Linked DNA regions of Homo sapiens: region 2 is linked to region 1. Evidence: promoter capture Hi-C in 16 types of primary human blood cells and fetal thymus (Javierre and others, 2016). All regions are on one chromosome and are shown on one strand. Each heading gives the region's core, a stretch centred on a gene start or on the middle of the fragment in contact. The rest is flanking DNA. Distances are from core to core; before and after follow the strand shown. Region 1 holds the start of PITPNA (phosphatidylinositol transfer protein alpha). Region 2 has its middle 12 kb from the start of BHLHA9.

Region 1 (2,683 bases), core at 128-2,627:
TGGACATCTGCAGCAGCCTCCTCGCCGGTCTCCCTGCCTACGCTCTGGCATTCCATCCCCTCTGTCCACCCAACCACTAGAGTGAGCCTTCGCCCAGGACACCCGCTCATGTCACTGCTCAGAGCCCTTACATGCCCTCCCACCGCCCTTAGGGTGGACTCCAAATACCTTATCATCGTTCACCAGGAACCCTCCCCTATTGAGCTGCTCAGCCCTGAAATGTTCTGTTCCACTCACTTGTCAGTTCTCCAAATGCACCATGCTCTCCCTCTTGCCTCCAGCCTTTGCATTCACTCTGCCTGCTATGCTCTTCTCCGAAGCCCTCTGCAGATCTGAGAATCTCTTCCTCCAGGAAGCCTTCCCTGACTACATCCCTGACGCTCAATTAGGTGCCCCTCCGTGTAATGCCGCTAAGCCTGTGTCTCATTTCTCACAGCCCTTTTCATTCTTTTTTTTTTTTTTTTTTTTGATGCAGAGTCTCGCTCTGTCGCCCCAGCTGGAGTGCAATGGTGCGATCTCGGCTCACTGCAACCTCCGCCTCCAGGGTTCAAGCGATTCTCCTGCCTCATCCTCCCGAGCAGCTGGGACTACCACCACCACGTCCACCACCACGCCCGGCTAATTTTTGTACTTTTAGTAGAGATGGGGTTTCGCCATCTGGTCTGGAACTCCTGACCTCAGGTGATGCGCCCGCCTGAGTGCTGCATTACAGGCATGATGTGCCTGGGATTACTGCCAGGAGCCACCGCGCCCGGCCTCACAGCCCTTTTCTTTTCTTTTTTTTTTTTTTGAGACGAAGTTTCACTCTTGTCCCCCAGGCTGGAGTGCAATGGCGCGATCGCGATCTCGGCTCACTGCAAACTCTGCCTCCCGGTACAAGCGATTCTCCCGCCTCAGCCTCCCGTGTAGCTGGGATTACAGGTGCGTGCCTCCACGCCCAGCTAATTTTTGTATTTTTAGTAGAGACGGGGTTTCATCATGTTGGCCAGGCTGGTCTCGAACTCCTGACCTCAGGTGATCCGCCCGCCTCGGCCTCCCAAGGTGCAAGGATTACAGGCGTGGGCCACCGCGCGCGGCTATTAATATTTTTTGAAACAACCTTTTCCTGGGTCTCAATTCCCTCAACCGGGGAGGCCCCCCAGCCAGCACCCGCGTGCATCCGTGGCGGTTCACACCGAGGACGGTGACGGACACCCTAGTCTGCTCCGCCTTCTGCCGGGTCTGGCCCCAGCCGCGGGGCCCCACCTCGGAACCGACAGCGCCGCCGCGGCCCACTTAAGGACGGGAGGGCGGGCCTGGGAAGGCTCGGCCCCGCGTGACGTCAGCGCGCACCGCGGCGTGTGACGCTCTGGTTGCCGCAGAGACGCCCCGCCCCCGCGCGGCGCTGCGGAACCGGAGCTCCGGGCGGCGTCGGCAGCGGCGCGAGAGGCGACGAGGCCCGGGCGGCAGGAGCCGGCGCGGCGACCGCGGCGAGGGCGGCGGGGACGGAGCAGAGCACGACGAAGACGCACAGGCAGCCGGGCCGGGCCGGGCCACGGGGAGAGCGGCCGGCGGGCAGCGGGCGGGAGGCCGGGCGGGCCGCGGGCAGCCACCGAGCCGCGAAGCGACATGGTGCTGCTCAAGGAGTAGTGAGTGTCCGGCGGCCGTGCGGAAGCGGGGAGGAGGGAGGGTGGGGACGGCCGCCGGGGCGACGGCGCGGCGAGGGACGCAGGGCCCGGATGGACGGAGGGGCAGCAGGGACGGAGGGTGCCTGAGGCGGGCCCAGCGGGGATGGAGGGGATCCGGGGCGGGCGGCACGTGAGGCGGGGCCCACGGGGCACGGAGGGGCGGCCGGGGCGTGGAGGGGCGGCCGGGGCGTGGAGGGGCAGCCGGGGCGTTCGGCATCTGAGCCGGGGCCCACGGGGCATGGACGGGCAGCCGGGGCATGGAGGGGCCCACGGGCACGGAGGGACAACCCGGGCGGACGGCTCCTCAGGCGCCCCGGGGGCCTCGGAGGCCCAAGTGGACCCGAGGAGAGGCCGGGGACAGCGAGGGCGAGGCCAGGCCCGAGACGGGGTCAGGGCAGGGAGAGCTGGCCCGGGACTGGGGGAGGCCGAGGGGACGCCGAGCGCTGGGAGTGCTGTGGGGTCGCTCTGCGCGGGCCGAGGGCGCGGGCTCAGCCGGGACTGCAGGCGGCGCTGAGAGGCCCCGCGGCGGCCGAGGAAGAGGCGCACCGGGGCAGGCAGGGCCTCCCGGCGGTGGGGAAAGGTGGAGGGCCGAACAGTTCACACGGAGAGCCGGGTGGATGGGTCAGAGGCTCCGCGATGGAGTTGGGATGGGGATGGGGAGGAGTGGCCGCCTTAGGCATCGGGTGAGGGGTGGTGGTAAGTGGACACAGGAGGAGGACTAGGAAGTCAGGGCCTGGCTGGGGAGACAGGTGAAGGGTCTGAGGACATGCAGAGGGGGCTGAGATGCGGGCCGGAGTAACCGTGGTGCCCAAGCAGCTGGTGCGGAAGAGGAGGCTTTTGGAACAAGCTTGGGATGACTGCTTGGGACGTGGGGAGACTTGGGCGAGGAGGCCAGAAAATGTTGGGTAGGGTCCGAAGTGGAGAAGGCCGGGAAGTTACCGGGGTCGAGGCTGGTCCGGAAAGAGAGTATGTTGGGATGAGTATACCTGCCGTTGGAGATGGGGGAGACCAGGGCA
Region 2 (2,683 bases), core at 73-2,572, 300 kb after region 1:
CCGTCACCACGCCGGGCTAATTTATTTTTGTATTTTATTTTTGTAGAGATGGGGGTGGGGTGGGTCTCATTTTGTGGGCCAGGCAGGTCTCGAACTCCGCCCGCCTCGCTTGGCAAAGCGCCGGGACTACAGGCTGAACCGCGTGCCCGGCGGGAACTGGGCTCCTCTCTTTGGCATCTCTCCCCACTCACTCCTTTTCTGTCCCTTTTGATCGGCTCCTCTTCTTCCGACAATCCCTTAAAGGTCAAATGTCTCCTTTCAGCTGCAGCTTCTCTCCCGACGTTCAGAGCCGTGTTCCCGTGTCCGGGTGACCGTTCCGCAGACATCTCCACCCAGTTCCCACACTCTGCTCCCTGGCTCCCCGGCTCCCCACCGGGGTGAACGAGCAAAGGAACAAAACCATCGCCCACCCTCCCACCGCCTCCCGCCATCATTGTGGCGGACTCAGAAGGGAACTTTTTATTCCTAGACTCCAAACCTTAGCAACTTTGGAAAGAGAAACGTGGGGCGTGAAGAACAAAAGTGGAACCCCGGCGCCCTCTTCTGGTCAGAAAGTGGAACTCCAGGCCGGGCGCGGTGGCTCACACCTGTAATCCCAGCACTTTGGGAGGCCTGGGCGGGCGGATCTCTTGAGGTCAGGAGTTCGAGACCAGCCTGGCCAACATGGCGAAATCCCGTCGCTACCAAAATACAAAAATTAGCCGGGCGTGGTGGCGGGCGCCTGTAATCCCAGCCACTTGGGAGGCTGAGCCAGGAGAATCGCTTGAACCTGGGAGGTGGAGGTTGCAGTGAGCCCAGATCACGTCACTGCACTCCAGCCTGGGCGACAGAGCAAGACTCCATCGTCTCAAAAAAAAAAGAAAAAAGTTGAACCCCATGAAGCGCTCAGTTCAGGCCTCTTGTTGGGCTAAGGCCCTGCTGCTTGGTGCTGTCCACCTGGGGCTGCCCCTGCAAAAGCTGAAGTTTTATGTCTTGTCATCTGTGCTGGGAGAGGAAGCTGCTCTTTTGCGCTGGTCAGGTTCTTCCTGCACTTCTCTTGGAGGACCTTCAGGTCTTCATCATGTACAACCCGCAGTTTCATTGCACGTAGCCCACCTCTCCTGTCTCAGAGGAAAAATTGATACCATCAGATGCGAACCCTCAGCTTCCTGCCTGGGCCCACAAAGAGATCTGTCTGCACCCATTTGCACGTCCTGCTGTCTGAAGATAACCCTGCTGCTGGGGCGGTGGGGGAAGCATCTCCACTCCCACCCTCACAGAAGGTACACTTTGAGCCGCTAGCTATTATTCCCTCTCTCCAGTTGCTTTTTGATCTTTCATGGGTTTTTGGGGGGTGTTTTTTTGTTTTTTGTTTTTGCTTTTTGAGACAGGGTCTTATTCTGTCACTGAGGCTGGGAGGCAGTAGCATAATCACAGCTCACTGCAGCCTCGACCTCCTGGGCTCAAGCAATCCTTCCACCTCAGCCTCCCGAGCAGCTGGGATTGCAGGCATGCGCCACCAAGCCCGGCTAATTTTTTGTATTTTCAGTAGAGATGGGATTTCACCATGTTGGCCAAGTTGGTCTCGAACTTCTGACCTCGTGATCCACCCACCTCCGCCTCCCAAAGTGCTGGGATTACAGACGTGAGTCGCCGCGACCGGCCACCCATTTTTTGTGCTTTAATGAACGTTATTTTTTAGAATGATTTTAGATGTACAGAAAAACTAGGCCGAGCGAGTGGCTCCTGCCTGTAATCTCAGCACTTTGGGAGCCTGAGGTGGGTGGATCACTGGAGGTCAGGAGTTTGAAACCAGCCTGGCGAACATGGTGAAACCCCGTCTTTACTAAAAATACAAAAAGTAGCCAGATGTGGTGGCACACACCTGTAATCCCAGCTACTTGGGAGGCTGAGGCAGGAGAATCGCATAAATCCAGGAGGTGGAGGTTGCAGTCAGTGGAGACTGTGTCATTGCAATCCAGCCTGGGGGACAAGAGTGAAACTTTGCCTCAAAAGAGAAAGAAAGAAAAAAAAAAGATGTACAGAAAAACTGAGAAGCGAATACCAAGAGTCCCCCATGTATCCTGAACCCATTTCCTTGTTATTAACATATCACATTACTGTAGTACATTTATTACAATTAACGAATCAATATTGTCATATCATTATTATTAAGAAACCCTGTCTCTACGAAAAATTAAAAAATTAGCTGGGGGTGGTGGTATGCATCTGTAGTCCCAGCTACTCAGGAGGTTGAGGTGGGAGGATCCCTTGAGCCCAGGAGTTTGAGGCTGCAGTAAGCAAAGATCACGTCACTGCACTCTAGCCTGGGCGACAAAGCGAGACCCAGTCTCTAAAAAGTAGAAATAGGCCGCACGCGGTGGCTCATGCCTGTAATCCCAGCACTTTGGGAGGCCGAGGCGGGTGGATCACCTGAGGTCAGGAGTTCAAGACCAGCCTGACCAACATGGCAAAAACCCGTCTCTGCTAAAAATACAAAATTCGCCGGGTTCGGTGGTGCATTCCTGTAATCCCAGCTACTTGGGAGGCTGAGGCAGGAGAATTGCTTGAACCTGGGAGGTGGAGGTTGCAGTGAGCCAAGATCGTGCCACTGCACTCCAGCCTGGATGACAGAGCAAGACTCCATCAAAAAAAAAAAAAAAAAAAGTAGAATTAAAAAAGGGGTTTCAGGCCTACAAGGAGT

The links. Contacts are between HindIII fragments. The CHiCAGO score rates a contact against its expected background, and 5 or more counts as called.
Region 2: a contact is called between a fragment that was not itself captured here and the fragment with the promoter of PITPNA in region 1, in 7 of 17 cell types (endothelial precursors, megakaryocytes, erythroblasts and 4 more). The highest score is 16.6, in endothelial precursors.

What each region holds. Positions count from the first base shown.
Region 1 is chr17:1,561,486-1,564,168 of GRCh38, reverse strand. It overlaps PITPNA (phosphatidylinositol transfer protein alpha), which reads left to right and starts at 1,377. Exons shown (of 12, transcript NM_006224.4): 1 at 1,377-1,628. The coding sequence starts at 1,609. RefSeq lists silencers at 1,205-1,484, 1,555-1,604, 2,085-2,214 and enhancers at 1,057-1,556, 2,325-2,424. The HindIII fragment of the contact is 8,315 bases long and covers 1-2,516 here.
Region 2 is chr17:1,257,139-1,259,821 of GRCh38, reverse strand. No RefSeq gene overlaps it. Among named protein-coding and RNA genes, the nearest start is that of BHLHA9, 12 kb to the left of the region's middle. The HindIII fragment of the contact is 2,984 bases long and covers 1-2,683 here.